Linked DNA regions of Homo sapiens: region 2 is linked to region 1. The links are contacts of gene promoters, found by promoter capture Hi-C in blood cells and fetal thymus (Javierre and others, 2016). All regions are on one chromosome and are shown on one strand. The core of a region is centred on a gene start or on the middle of the fragment in contact, and the rest is flanking DNA. Distances in the headings are between cores, read along the strand shown. Region 1 holds the start of CCDC85A (coiled-coil domain containing 85A). Region 2 has its middle 490 kb from the start of CCDC85A.

Region 1 (6,535 bases), core at 2,621-5,120:
CTCAGACTGAAGGAACAGCAGCTACCCAAGGTTAGCTCTTCTCCTGGTGAAGCGTGGAAAGAACAGACGGGTGAGTGGGCAGACAGACGCCTTTTGAGACCTCTTCAGAGAAGGGGTACACTGTCAGGTGCACACACATGCGTTAGTACAGCAAGTCATATGCTTGCAATATGATTTTCAATACCAGTAGGGAGGGGAGAAAAACTGCCCCCTGTAGGGGAGGTGCTACAACATCACATGGTGGAAGGTGATGTTAATTTTTTTTTTTTTTTTTTTTTGAGACAGAGTCTCGCTATGCCGTCAGGCTGGAGTGCAGTGGTGCTATCTTGGCTCACTGCAAGCTCCGCCTCCTGGGTTCACGCCATTCTCCCACCTCAGCCTCCCGAGTAGCTGGGACTACAGGTACCCGACACCACGCCCGGCTAATATTTTGTATTTTTAGTAGAGACGGGGTTTCACCGTGTTATCCAGGGTGGTCTAGATCTCCTGATCTCGTGATCCACCCGCCTTGGCCTCCCAAAGAGCTGGGATTACAGGCGTGAGCCACCACACCTGGCCGATGTTAATTAATTTTGTAGGGAGGTTGTGAAAAATTATCAGCAATAATTCAATCTGTCTCAGGGGTAAAGTAGCTAGACTTGACTTTTTGAGATGATTCACTTGGGAAGTTGTGTGGAAAGCAGATTCGAGAGAGGTGATGCAGTAGTCAGAGGGACCAGTGAGAAGGGCCAGGTGAGACTTAGTGAGAACCTAGGCTGAGTAACAGTGAGCTGGGGGGAAATAGAGTTGACTGAAGAAAATTATATGATATAAAACCATCAGGACTAAAGACGTAGGGTCATTTATGGCTGGTTTTCAGAAATCTCCATTTAATATACCCAACTTAAAACACTGTCCTAGCTTCCCTTGCAGCTGGGAGGTGATTATATGGTAAGCTCTGCCTATTAGAACATAAACAAAATTCACTGGGTCAATTACCAGGATTTTTTTTTTTTTTTTTGAGACAGGGTCTCACTCTTTCGACCAGAGTGGAGTGCAGTGGCACGATCCTGGCTCACCACAACCTCCGCGTCCCAGGCTCAAGCGATTCTCCTGCCTCAGCCTCCCGATAGCTGGGATTATAGGCACGCACCACCATGCCCAGCTAATTTTTGTATTTTTAGTAAAGATGGGGTTTCACCATATTGGCCAGGCTGGTCTTGAATTCCTGACCTCAAATGATCCACCTGCATCGGACGCCCAAAGTGCTGGGATTACAGTTATGAGCCACCGCCCCCGGCCACCAGGAAAAGTTTTTAAAGGGGCATGTGCCCCTTTGCAGTTGTTATTACCTTCTTCCTGCCTTACACGTAGCTGGATGGCTAGAGTTCCACCAACCATGTTATGGACACGAGGCAATCATCCCAAAGGGGACTGAGCTGAGAGAAGGAGCCTAAGATTTTGACGACCTCATGAAGATACCATACCAGCCCTCAGCTGCCTCTCTTTAGAATACCAGGTAGGTGAGAAAAAATAAATGACTTTTTTAAAGTGACTGTTTTTTGAGTTTCTGTTTTTAGCAGTCAAATGAAGCTCCTGACACCATACATGACCTTAGCAACATGAAGCAACATTATTCATTCATGCAGATAATTATTATTCTGAATCAATGACCAAAATTAGAAACATGAAAACCTTAAGGTGATCTAGCTCAACTGTAATCCACTGCTAGTGTATATAATTTGTGGAGACTTTTTTTTTTTTTTTGGCTTTCCTTCTTCCTTGTCTTCCCAACACAAGTCTAATTTTTCCTCTCAGCCATCTCTCTGATTTCTCATATCTATTTGGTGTTAACTGATCAGAGGGAGTTAGCAGAGAAGGGGGCTGGCTGTTTCATTTTAGAATACGACTCTTGAAGAACCCGTGATGGAGGAATAAACAGAAGTCCTGGTTCCTATTTCTAGACAAGAGGCTGCCCAATGTAATATGTAATATCAGTAATAGTAAGGTTGCATTTCTGTAGGGTGGCTCGATCAAGCGCTTCTTGTATACCATATCATTAGCTGCCCGAGGGCCAGTAAGGTCGGATGGTTTGTTCAAGGACAAGAACTAACAAGTAACAGAGATAGGACTTATCTTTTTCTGACCTTCACTTTCCCTTTCTGTGACAAAACTGGTCTTAGGAACTGTGTTGAGCAGAGCCTTCTGTGGGCGTGAGAGCGGCTTGGAGGTGTCAAAGAAAAATTGCATCCGATATAGTTAAACAGACAAGGGGGAATTATTCAAGGCTATTGCAATAGGGAAGAGAGAGAGGGAGGGAGAGGGGAACTAGTAGAAGACTAGTGGAGGAGATTAGGATGGGAAGTTGGTCAGTGTAATGAGGCCATTTGTGTTTCCTAATTGGAACTTATTAAAGTTAGGCTCCTCCTCTCCACAAACACTAGGAGATAGGGACCCTTTTTTCCTTGATGATTACATTTCAAAGGGATGCCTCACAGATCCCTGAGAAAGATCCCCAGGCTGTAAAACCCAGCAAGAGGCGGAGAGATTTACATGTCAAAGGGTCAGAGGAAACATTCACCAATGGAAGTTGGCTAAAGTAAATGCTCTGAGAAAAGGAAGGTCTGGGGCCTACAGTTAGGAAGAAACCTGTCTAAAGTTTAGTTAAGCTGAGGGGAATGTTAAGGCCATTTGGTCACCGTAAGCAGTACCACATTTCCTTGCCTCTCCCGGGAGCCAGGTCTCAGTGTCCCCAATAGGGGACACGCACTGACCGGCGGGTGAAGGGACTGATTTTGATTATCATCCTACCAGATAGAGATTATTCCCTCTGCACCCGGGTTAACTGAAACCCGGTGGGGGTAGATCCTTGCCATTTTCCGGCCCTGTACCCCACTGGAAATAACATGCGGTGGTCAAGGGCATCCACCTCTTTAGGCAAAAGCATGTTTTCAGCCCAGAGACGATTCCACCCAACTTTACAAGAGGATAGCCCAAAGATAGAAGCCAGGGACTCAGACTTCCTCCTTCCAGAAATAACCATCATAAAAAAGCCGACCCAGTAAACGCCTGGCAGCCTGCGGCATAGAAGAAAATGGAAATCTCCTTGGCTGGCATTTCAGCTTGCCTGAGGGGGCTTGCTTTGCTCCGAGGGGAGGTGACTGTGCTGACCTTAAAATCCAGGTTTCAGGAAGCAGGAGATGAAGGTATTTTATTTTCGCCTAAAGGCTTTGATATTTTTCAAATAAAAATTTAAAAGATCCAGTACCTTCTCCCGAAGCTTCTTCATAGAGTAGTGGATTTTTAGAAAACACAAAGGCCTAGGGGTGGGGCGAGAGTGGGGGGTGGGGATGGGTAGCCCCATAAGAGCAGTGCCCTGACGCCTCTTTTCGCCCTTTTCAGACCATTTGGATTTTCTTAAGCTGCCCCTTTCCCCAACCCCCGTTTTTGCCATTTGCCTCTCCTCCCATTCTCCAAAGTGCAAATAACTGGTTATCCCTCAGGTCCTGCTACCCCATCTTTCCTGATCCCCGATCCCTCCAAATACGAAGCACCTCGCATTTGGGTCAGCAGCTGTTTCCCCTGCCTGGTGACAAGGCCGGTGTGCAGAGGGCAGAGGAGGGAGCTTCTTCCGCCACACGGTGGCGCGCGCGAGCCTCCCAAAGACCGGGCGGCCACAGCTCCTCACCTTCTCCCCATTCCAGCCCCACCCGCCCGGGCGCAGAAAGAGCCGCGCCCCCAGCCCTCCCGGGCAGGACAGCCGGGAGCGCACCTCGAGGGCCCGGGCAGCGGTCGAGTGGCAGCTGCGTCCAGCCCATGCGGGAGCTGCTGCGGGTTACGGGTGGCCCCAGCTCCAGGCTCCTCCTCCAGCCGGTCCCCCACCCTCCACCCCTTCTCGACTCCGCTCTGCAAATCGAAGGCTTTCCGGAGCAGCCTAGGAGCGGCCGCGGGCGCAGCGAAGGCGGCAGGAGGAGCGCAGCAGCCTTCGGGCAGCCGCGGCGGCGTCGCTAGAGCAGCCGGGGAGGCGCCGCGGTGCCCGGCGCGCCCTCCAAGCTAGGAGAGGGGAGAAGCCGGGGGCTGCAGCTGGGCAAGGGGGAGGAAAGTGCGTGTGCGTGCACGCCTGTGTGCAGGGCAGAGAGTGCGGGGGGCGACAGTCTCGGCTTAGGGCGGAGGAGAGGGCAGGGGAACGGCGGTGCAGCTCCCCCGCTGTCCCCGAGGATTTCCCGCGGCAGCCCCGGGCTCCCCAGTGCCCCTCACCATGGACTTGCGCGGAGTTGGGACGGGCCTCGGCAGCAGCAAGCGGCTGGCTGCCGGGCCCTGGGGGAGCGCGGGCGCGCGCGCGGGGATGGCGAGGTAGGATGGCCACCCAGCGCGACCCCCGCCGCCCCAACCCAGCGGCCCCTGGGCGGTGCCGCTGACTCGCCGGAGCGCACAGGGGTGTGGGCGGAGGCGGCCTCGCCGCGCCCGCGCCTTCGGGAGTCGCCTCGCCTCTTCCACCCACTTGCACCTGCCACCCCGCGGATACCATGTCGAAGGCGGCCGGAGGCGCGGCGGCGGCTGCGGCGGCGGCGGAAAGTTGTTCCCCAGCCCCGGCCGGCTCGTCCGCGGCCCCGCCCGCGCCGGTGGAGGACCTGTCCAAAGTGTCGGACGAGGAGCTGCTGCAGTGGAGCAAGGAGGAGCTGATCCGCAGCCTGCGGCGCGCCGAGGCGGAGAAGGTGAGCGCGATGCTGGACCACAGCAACCTCATCCGCGAGGTGAACCGCCGCCTGCAGCTGCACCTCGGCGAGATCCGCGGCCTCAAGGTGAGCGCGGGCCAGGTGGGGAGGCGCGGCGCGGCTGGGAGCGGGGTGCCCCGAGGAGGAGGCGGGGCCAGGCAAACTTTCCCTCCCTCCCTCAACAGGTGACCCTCCCCTTCTCCCGGTCGGCACCCCCTACCCCCAGTCCCCAGCCCCTGTGTAACTTTTCCAAACTTCGGAGGCGTCTGCTCCCCTCCTCTCCCCAACACGGGGCGCTCCACTGTCTGGCTGTTCGGGGAGGCGCTGAGGACGCTGGAAAGCAGGGAGGGAGGTGAAGGGCACGCGAACCTTTCATTTCTTAGGGAGGCTGGAAAATCTGTGCCTGGGGAGCCGGGTTTCAGTCAGTTAGGCGGAAAGGCCAGTGAGGGGGTGAATCCAGGGGATCTTCGCCTTGGAGGGTCGGGAATGCGGCTGCTCTGGGCCAGCAGCTCTTGGGCGGGCAGAGGGCGAGGAAAGGGCGCCACTGCCAGGGAGAGCGGCTGGCGGGGCGCCCGGGAGAAGCAGCGGGCGCCACCCTCAGAGCAGTCTTGTGTCACCGGGTACATAGGAGTTCAAGCTCTGCCTTCACGTCTTCTCCCAATTCCTGTGCTTTCCCTCTCCCGGAGTTTGGAAGGCATCCCCTGGAGTTGCCTTACTCCCCTTCCCACTTAACCCCAGGTTGACTGGGGGAAAGAGGAGGAGCAAAGAGACTCAGTATGGAAGGAGCAGCATTTTGACAGAGTACCCCAAGTGTTGGTCAGTGATGGTTTCTTTCTGAGCCAGCCCCCCTGCCACCCTCTTCTAGGAAAAGAAGGGAAACGTACCCCAAGCCCACTAACTTTCTTTTCTCCTTGGAGAGCGCCGGGTCTGCGAGGAGTGTGCCTGCCCAGCTGCAGTACACTAGTGGCCGGGAACCGCCCTGCTGGCGAGCACCACAAACTTCCTCTCCTTCCAGCTAGCGCTGGTGCCTCCTGGTATTCCTTCCTCTCATTGTTCTGCTTTGTTTGTAGGAAGCCAGACACAAACGAAATCACTGCAGGGACTTCAGGGAGCAAATTCCCGAAGGCACAAGCTGTTCTTTTCCCCTTTCCACTCCTATCCCCACATATCAGACAGTAGATGCTGTTCCGGAATTGCCTCAGTGCTCCAGCTCTGGGATTCTGGGGCAAGAAAGAGTGGGAAGAGTGGAATGCTCAAGGCTCACCTATGTGCTGGGCCCAGTTCAGGTGGAGATGGCCGTCTCCCGAGGCCGAAAGTCATTGTCATATAGTCCCTAGAGTGGGTGCAGGTAGGAAGATTCCTCCAGTCAGAAAAATGCCAAGGCTTACTCTCTCCTGTGGTTGAATTCATTACTAACAGAGTGTTTATTAAGTGCCAGTCTCTTTGGGGAATAGAGGCAGGCTAGTGTAGTAGGAAGATGATCTCAGAGGTGGGTTTGAATTCTAGAAACCTCATTTGCCAGGAGGGTGAGCTTGGGTAATTACTTTCTCAGATCCTCCTTTTATTCACCAATACAATGCAATGATAATAACTTTCTGAGGGTGTTATGGCAATAAGTTATGATTATGTAGGGGAAGGTTTAATACTTGACTATAAAATGGTAGTTACTGTCATCAGGAAAGGACTTACAAATCTATGGCTGTGTGTCCCCAAGATTTTGGTTTCTTAGGCAGAGCTGGACAAGGGGGCATTAGTTTGTCATCCTCTAATTTGAGTTTCTTCCATGGTCTGAACAATAGTGTGATTTAGAAGAGTTGGAAGAGTTATTATTAAATGTTTTA
Region 2 (6,535 bases), core at 1,230-3,729, 490 kb after region 1:
TGCAGGTCAGGAGGGTGGGAAATCATTTTATCAAACTAGATTCCTTAGTATGAATGGGGATGATGGATTATAGGAATTCAGAGGCCAGGTGGTAGCACTCCCTTGTCAGATGTAAGGGAATTGGAATTGCCATAATTGGCATCAAGGCCAGAATGGCAATCAGGATGCCTGAGCCGTAGGTATCTGTGAAACAAGCTAAGAGATTATGATAGTTTTAAGGGTGAGATAGAAAGCCCCTAAACATATTATTATTATTATTATTAATAAAAAATAATGAAGCCGGGCATGGTGGCTCATGCCTGTAATCCCAGCACTTTGGGATGCCAAGGCAGGTGGATCACCTGATGTCAGGAGTTCGAGACCAGCCTGGCCAATGTGGTGAAATCCTGTCTCTACTAAAAATAAAAAAATTAGCCAGGCATGGTGGCGGGCGCCTGTAATTCCGGCTACTCGGGAGGCTGAAGCAGGAAAATCACTTGAACCTGGGAGGCGGAGGTTGCGGTAAGCCAAGATCACACCATTGCACTCCAAACTGGGTGACAAGAGTGAAACTCCATGTCAAAATAATAATAATAATAATAATAATAATAATAATAATACTGTTATATCAGCCACTGAAATGGAATATCATGTCCTGCCAGTTTCCAGATTTAAATCAGTTTGCTAACCCAGGGTCCAGCAGTTGAAGGAGACTGTAAGTCCTCGGCATCATCACAAATACATGTGGTAAATATTCCCTTGTTTTGTTCCCAAAGGGATCTGTGACTTTTGCCAGAGTTACAGTGCCCTGGGAAGGAGGTTTACACAGACATTTAAAAACAGTTCACTATAGCATCTAAGCTGATTCTGATGCCAGGGTATCTAAAACAGTGTTATGGTCCTCTCTTATAGAGGTTTATGGTGGATAAGTTGCAGCAGTGAATACCATAGCTTGTTTTACTAACCCTTCTGCCTAAAATTTTTTCAGACACTGCGTTTCTGTGATTTATACTTTACTCTTTTGGAGGAGTGAGGGCACAAAAATTTCACAAAAAATGGAGAATCATTTTGCAACGTGGGAGCTGGGCAAAATGGGAGGTCACAAATGAATCTGAGTGGTGCAAAGAGTTTTCTGCATGAGACATATTCTAAATGCTACTTCCACTGTTTTTGGCTTGATCTACCCTTTGTCCATGGCCACTTATTTTACTCTGACTGCTATCATCATTAACTTTATATGATAGCACCTTGTCTCCTGCTTGCGTTCTGCATCTCTTGCCTTTCCAACTGTGGTTTGCTGGTTGCCAGTGAGGTGTTAAATGCCATAGGATTCACTTGCCACCTATGCATGTGCAGGGTGGAATTGGAAGTGAAACATGGTGCATAAATTCTCAATCCTTCTTCACGTAGACAGACTCTTATAAAATGGGCTAGTAAATATGCCCTCTCAGAAGGCAGTCTGATATCAAGCAAAATTAGTTGTGCTTGATTTCAAGCAGTGGCCCGCTCAGTAATGCTCTCTCTCCTCTTTGCTCTCGGTTCTTTAATGCCTTACTCTCCATTTCCTTTCCCCTTGCTTCCCCATGATTTCTTTCAGCAGTAAAGTAATACTATACAAATTTATACCCTAAGCTCCTCTTACTTTCACTGGTCTTCTTTTTCTTATCTGAGTGGGGAGTTTCTGATAATTCAACTTAATCTGTAAAGCTTGATTTACCAAGGCAAAATTGATCATTTTCTCGCCTTTGTTACTCCTGATTTCCTAGTCTATACGTTTATCTTGCATTTACCACAATATTTTATAATGATACATATTACTGACTAAACCATGAGCTTTTTGAAGGCTATGTCTTATGCTTCTTTGAATTGTAAATATTTGAATTGGCTCTGAGACATAATACATAATCAAAAATTTTTAATGGGATGAGTTAATGATATTATTAAAATTTATTTTAAATTATTTCAAATTTTATTTTATATTCAGGGTGTACATGTGCAGGTTTGTTCCATGGGTATATTGTGTGATTCTTAGGTTTGGGATATGAATGATACTGTCACTGAGATAGTCAACATGGTACCCAAATGTCAGTTTTTTAACTCTTGCTCCTAGCCCTCCCTCATGCTTCTAGTAGTCCCCAGATTCTATTGTTGCCTTTTTTACATCCATAAGCATCTAGTATTTAGTTCTCAATTATAAGTGAGAATATGTGGTATTTGGCTTTCTGTTCCTGCATTAATTCATTTAGGGTAATAGCCTCTGCTGCATCCATGTTTCTGCCAAGGGTATCTTTTATTTTATAGTTGAATAGTATTCCATGGTGGATATGTACCATGTTTTCATTACTCAATCCACTGTTGATAGGCCCCTAGGTTGATTCCATGTCTTTGCTCTCGTGAATAGAGCTGTGATGAATATACTAGTGCATGTGTCTTTTAAGTAGAGCAATGTATTTTCTTTTGAATAGATACCCAGTAATGGGGTTGCTGGGCCGAATGATGGTTCTGTTTTAAGTTTCTTGAGATATCTCCAAACCGTTTTCCACAGTGTTTGAACTAAGTTATATCCCCACCAACAGTGTATAAGCATTCCCTTTTCTTCAGAGGCTCACCAGCATTTGTTGTTTTTTTACTTTTGTTATTATTATATTTGAAACAGAGTTTGCTCTGTCTCCTGGCCAGGCTGAAGTGCAGTGGCATGATCTTGGCTCACTGCAACATACGCCTCCTGGGTTCAAGTGATTCTCCTGCCTCAGCCTTCCGAGTAGCTGGGATTACAGGCGCACACTACCACACCTAGCTAATTTTTGTATTTTTAGTAGGGATGGGGTTTTGCCATGTTGGCCTGGCTGGTCTTGAACCACTGACCTCGGGTGATCTGCCTGCCTCGGCCTCCCAAAGTGCTGCGATTACAGGCATGAGCCACTGTGCCTGGCCTTGACTTTTTAATAATAGCCATTCTGCCGGGTGTGAGATGGTATCTCATTATGGTTTCGATTAGTATTTCTCGGATAATTAATAATGAGTATTTATTCATGTTTTTTGGCCACTTGTATGTCTTCTTTTGAAAAGTGTGTATTCATGTCCTTGCCCATTTTTAATGAGGTTATTTATTCTGCTCATTGAATTGTTTAAGTTCCTCAGATTTCGGGATATTAGGCCTTTGTCATATGCATATTTTACAAATATTTTCTCCCATTCTGCAGGTTATTTATTTACTCTGTAAGGCTGATCTAGTGGTAACAAATTCCGTTAGTACTTGCTTGTCTGGAAAATATTTTATTTTTCCTTGCTTATGAAGCTTAATTTGGCAGAGTATGAAATTCTTGTAATTTCTTTTTTTTTTTTTTTTTTTTTTTTTTAAGAATGTGCTGAAGAAAGGTCTCCAGTCTCTCCTGGCTTCTAAGAATTTTGCTGAAAATTCTGCTGTTAGCCTAATAAGTTTCCCTTTTTATGGTATCTGCCCTTTTCTCTCTGCCTGTAAGACTTTTTCTTTAGCATTGATCTTGGACAATCTGGTGACTACATGCTTTGATTTGGTTCATTTTCTATAGCTTGTCACAGATGTTCCCTGGATTTCTTGTATCTGAATGCCTACCTCTCTAGCAAGATCAGAAAAATTTTCTAAAATTATTTCCTCAAATATGTTTTCCAGGTTGTCTAATTTTTCTCTTTGTGTCTCAGAAATGCCAATAACTAGGAGGATTATGCTTTACCTAATCCCATATTTCTCAAAAACTTCATTTTTTTTTTTTTTTTTTTTGAGATGGAGTCTCACACCGTCACCCAGGCTGGAGTGCAGTGGTATGATCTTCGCTCACTACAACCTCTGCCTCCCAGATTCAAGCAATTCTCCTGCCTCAGCTTCCCTAGTAGTTGGGATTACAGGCACCCACCACCACGCCCAGCTAATTTTTTGTATTTTTGGTAGGGACGGGGTTTCACCATGTTGGCCAGGCTGGTCTCAAACTCCTGACCTTGTGATTCGCCCTCTTCGGCCTCCCAAAGTGCTGGGATTACAGGCATGAGCCACTGCTCCCAACCCATTAATTTTTTAAGATTTTTTTTTCCTTGTCTTTGTCTGAATTAGTTTGAAAGACTAGTCTTTAAGCTCTGACATTCTTTCTGCTGCTTGGTTCAATCTATTGATAAAGCTTTCAATTATATTTTGAAATTGTTTTTTCAATTCCAGAAGCTCTGATTGATTTATTTTAAGATGTTTATCTCTTCCTTTATTTCCTGGATTGGTTTAGAAGTTTCTTTTTGTTAATTTTCAACCTTTTTTAAGATCTTCTTGAGCTTCCTTGCAACCCATGCTTTGAATTCTTTGTCTGTCATTTTTGAGCTTCCATTTTGGTTAGAAGCCATTGCTGGAGAGCTAGTGTGATACTTTGGTGGTACTGCTATTATACATTTTGTATCGTATGTATTATACATATAATACATTCTGATTTTTCATGGTGGCAGAATTCTTTCACTGGTTTCTTCTCATTTGGAAATGCTGACACTTCCAAATTTTTCTAATTATTTTCATTTGGGTAGGAATTTTTCTCCCCTATAATATTGTTTATTTATTTTTCTTTCGATTTCCCCCCTTTTCCCCTCCATAGATTGTGTGTCTATAGAGAATGTTAGGTATGGTCTTTTGGCTTTGCTTCCATATGTAGTCCTCTGCACTTCTTTCGGTAGGTTTTACATGGGTTGTGTGGTTTGATCTACAAGCCAGTAGATGGCACTTATGGGTAAGAACTGGATGCAGCCAACGTGGTTGGGTATATACTTGATCCTTATGTATCAGGAGAAGCTCTCTGTTGCCTTGGACAATGGGCTGATCTGTGGAGTGCCCAGTGGTTTCAGCTCGCTGCTTAGCCCCAGGGGGTTGGAGGCAAGATGGACAGAGCCAGACCAGGCAGGCCCAGCTTCAGGTCTCCTGATAACAGGCACGACATCAGTGCCATGGGAAAGTCCAGTGGCTGGTGACCAAGCATCCTGAAGTGAGCTTAGGCAGGGAGCTGGGAGACCTGCACAGGCAGGGGGCAGCCTAAACCTAATCCAGGAGAGCAGTTGCTCAAGATGACTAAAAACATTCCTGGGTGTAGAGTGCAGAGTGCTCTGCTGTAGGAAGTAAGGTGGTTTGACCTTCTGATCCAGGTGAGCTGGTGCTCTAACTGCATGGAGATCTGCCTAGGCATTGAGTGGAGAAGGCCCCACTGTACCACAGTCTCTGGGCATGGAACAGAAAGGGTCCTGCTGCATTGTGATCTCTGTGCAGAAAGGATGAAGCAGTTCAGAATGCCAAGCTGGGTGAGCAGGTGCTCCAAATACCTGGAGATCTGCCTGGATGTGAAATGGAGAGGGCCCCCTGCACCATGATCTCTGCACAGAAGGTTGGGACAGGTCAGGCTGCTGACTGAGTGCTCTGGATGCCTGGAGATATACCTGAGCATAAAGTGGAGAGGACATACTGCACCACAATCTATGCCCCGGTAGGGTGGAGCAGCTCAGGTTGCTGATCCAGGAGAGAAGTTGCTCTGAATGCTTGGAGGTTTTCCTAGATATGAAGTGAAAAGGGCCTCACAGAACCAAGATCTCTGCACAGGAAGGGTGGGGCAGGTCAGGCTGCTAATCCATATGAGTAAGTGCTTTGAATGCCTGGAGTTCTGCCTGGGGTGGATCAGAGTGATCCCTGCTGTACCACTATCTCAGGGGATCAGGCTGGAGTACCCAGCAATGACACATGCAAACTAGTTCCAGGTCACCAAGCTGGCCTTGACTGCAAGCCTTGCCTACCAGAAGAAAGTGCAGCTGTAGCAGCTCTCCTCCTGCCCCAGAGCAGTCCTAATGCCTATTTCTGAGGTGCTTTCCAAAATTCTGGCTTTGGAGGTACCTACCCTGCTCCAGAACAAATGCACCAATCTCTAGCCTGAGTTGGAAATGCCTGCATGGCTACACTGGTGGTTCCCCAAAGAAGGACTGACTTTGTATACATTCAGATTAAAAATGGCATCCTGCTCTCAGTTCTAGGTCTAGGAAAATGCCTCTAGTTTTTCCTGGTGCGTTTTCCTCTCAATGCCTCCAAACCTTTCCCTATGTTAGCTCCAGGTCTTGGGAGAAATGAAGTGCTCTCCCTTTGCCTGGGTTGCTTGGATTCCCAGTGGAAAGATGAGTCACAGAAGGAAGTTCCCTGCATCTTTTACGTACTGGGGTTTCACTCATTTTTATCAGCCAGATTCTGTCACAGAGGCTGTTGGACCACATTTTCCTCCTTGGGATCTGGGATGTACATCACAATTTCAGTGGAATCCTGTTTTCCTTCTTGAATTAAAGCACAGAAAGTTGATCTTTATGCACTATCTTGCTGCTTCCAAGTGGCAGAGGCATACTAAAATCCCCTACTCTGCTATCTTGGGGGAAAAAAGAAAATTGAAATAAACTAAAATTTAATATTATGACTAAGTTATAATTTAGTAGTCTGTGTGAAAGCAGAAAGAAGTCTAAGAAGGCTTATACTACACAAGTACCTATTAGGTACTCACATGTAATTATTGTGTAAACATAT

Evidence for each region. Contacts are between HindIII fragments. The CHiCAGO score rates a contact against its expected background, and 5 or more counts as called.
Region 2: a contact is called between a fragment that was not itself captured here and the fragment with the promoter of CCDC85A in region 1, in 1 of 17 cell types (endothelial precursors). The highest score is 5.0, in endothelial precursors.

What each region holds. Positions count from the first base shown.
Region 1 is chr2:56,180,120-56,186,654 of GRCh38, forward strand. It overlaps CCDC85A (coiled-coil domain containing 85A), which reads left to right and starts at 3,871. Exons shown (of 6, transcript NM_001080433.2): 1 at 3,871-4,781. The coding sequence starts at 4,506. It overlaps LOC100129434 (a long non-coding RNA gene), which reads right to left and starts at 5,651. Exons shown (of 3, transcript NR_125368.1): 1 at 5,579-5,651. RefSeq lists a silencer at 3,541-3,870. The HindIII fragment of the contact is 6,654 bases long and covers 3,258-6,535 here.
Region 2 is chr2:56,667,467-56,674,001 of GRCh38, forward strand. No RefSeq gene overlaps it. Among named protein-coding and RNA genes, the nearest start is that of CCDC85A, 490 kb to the left of the region's middle. The HindIII fragment of the contact is 1,591 bases long and covers 1,685-3,275 here.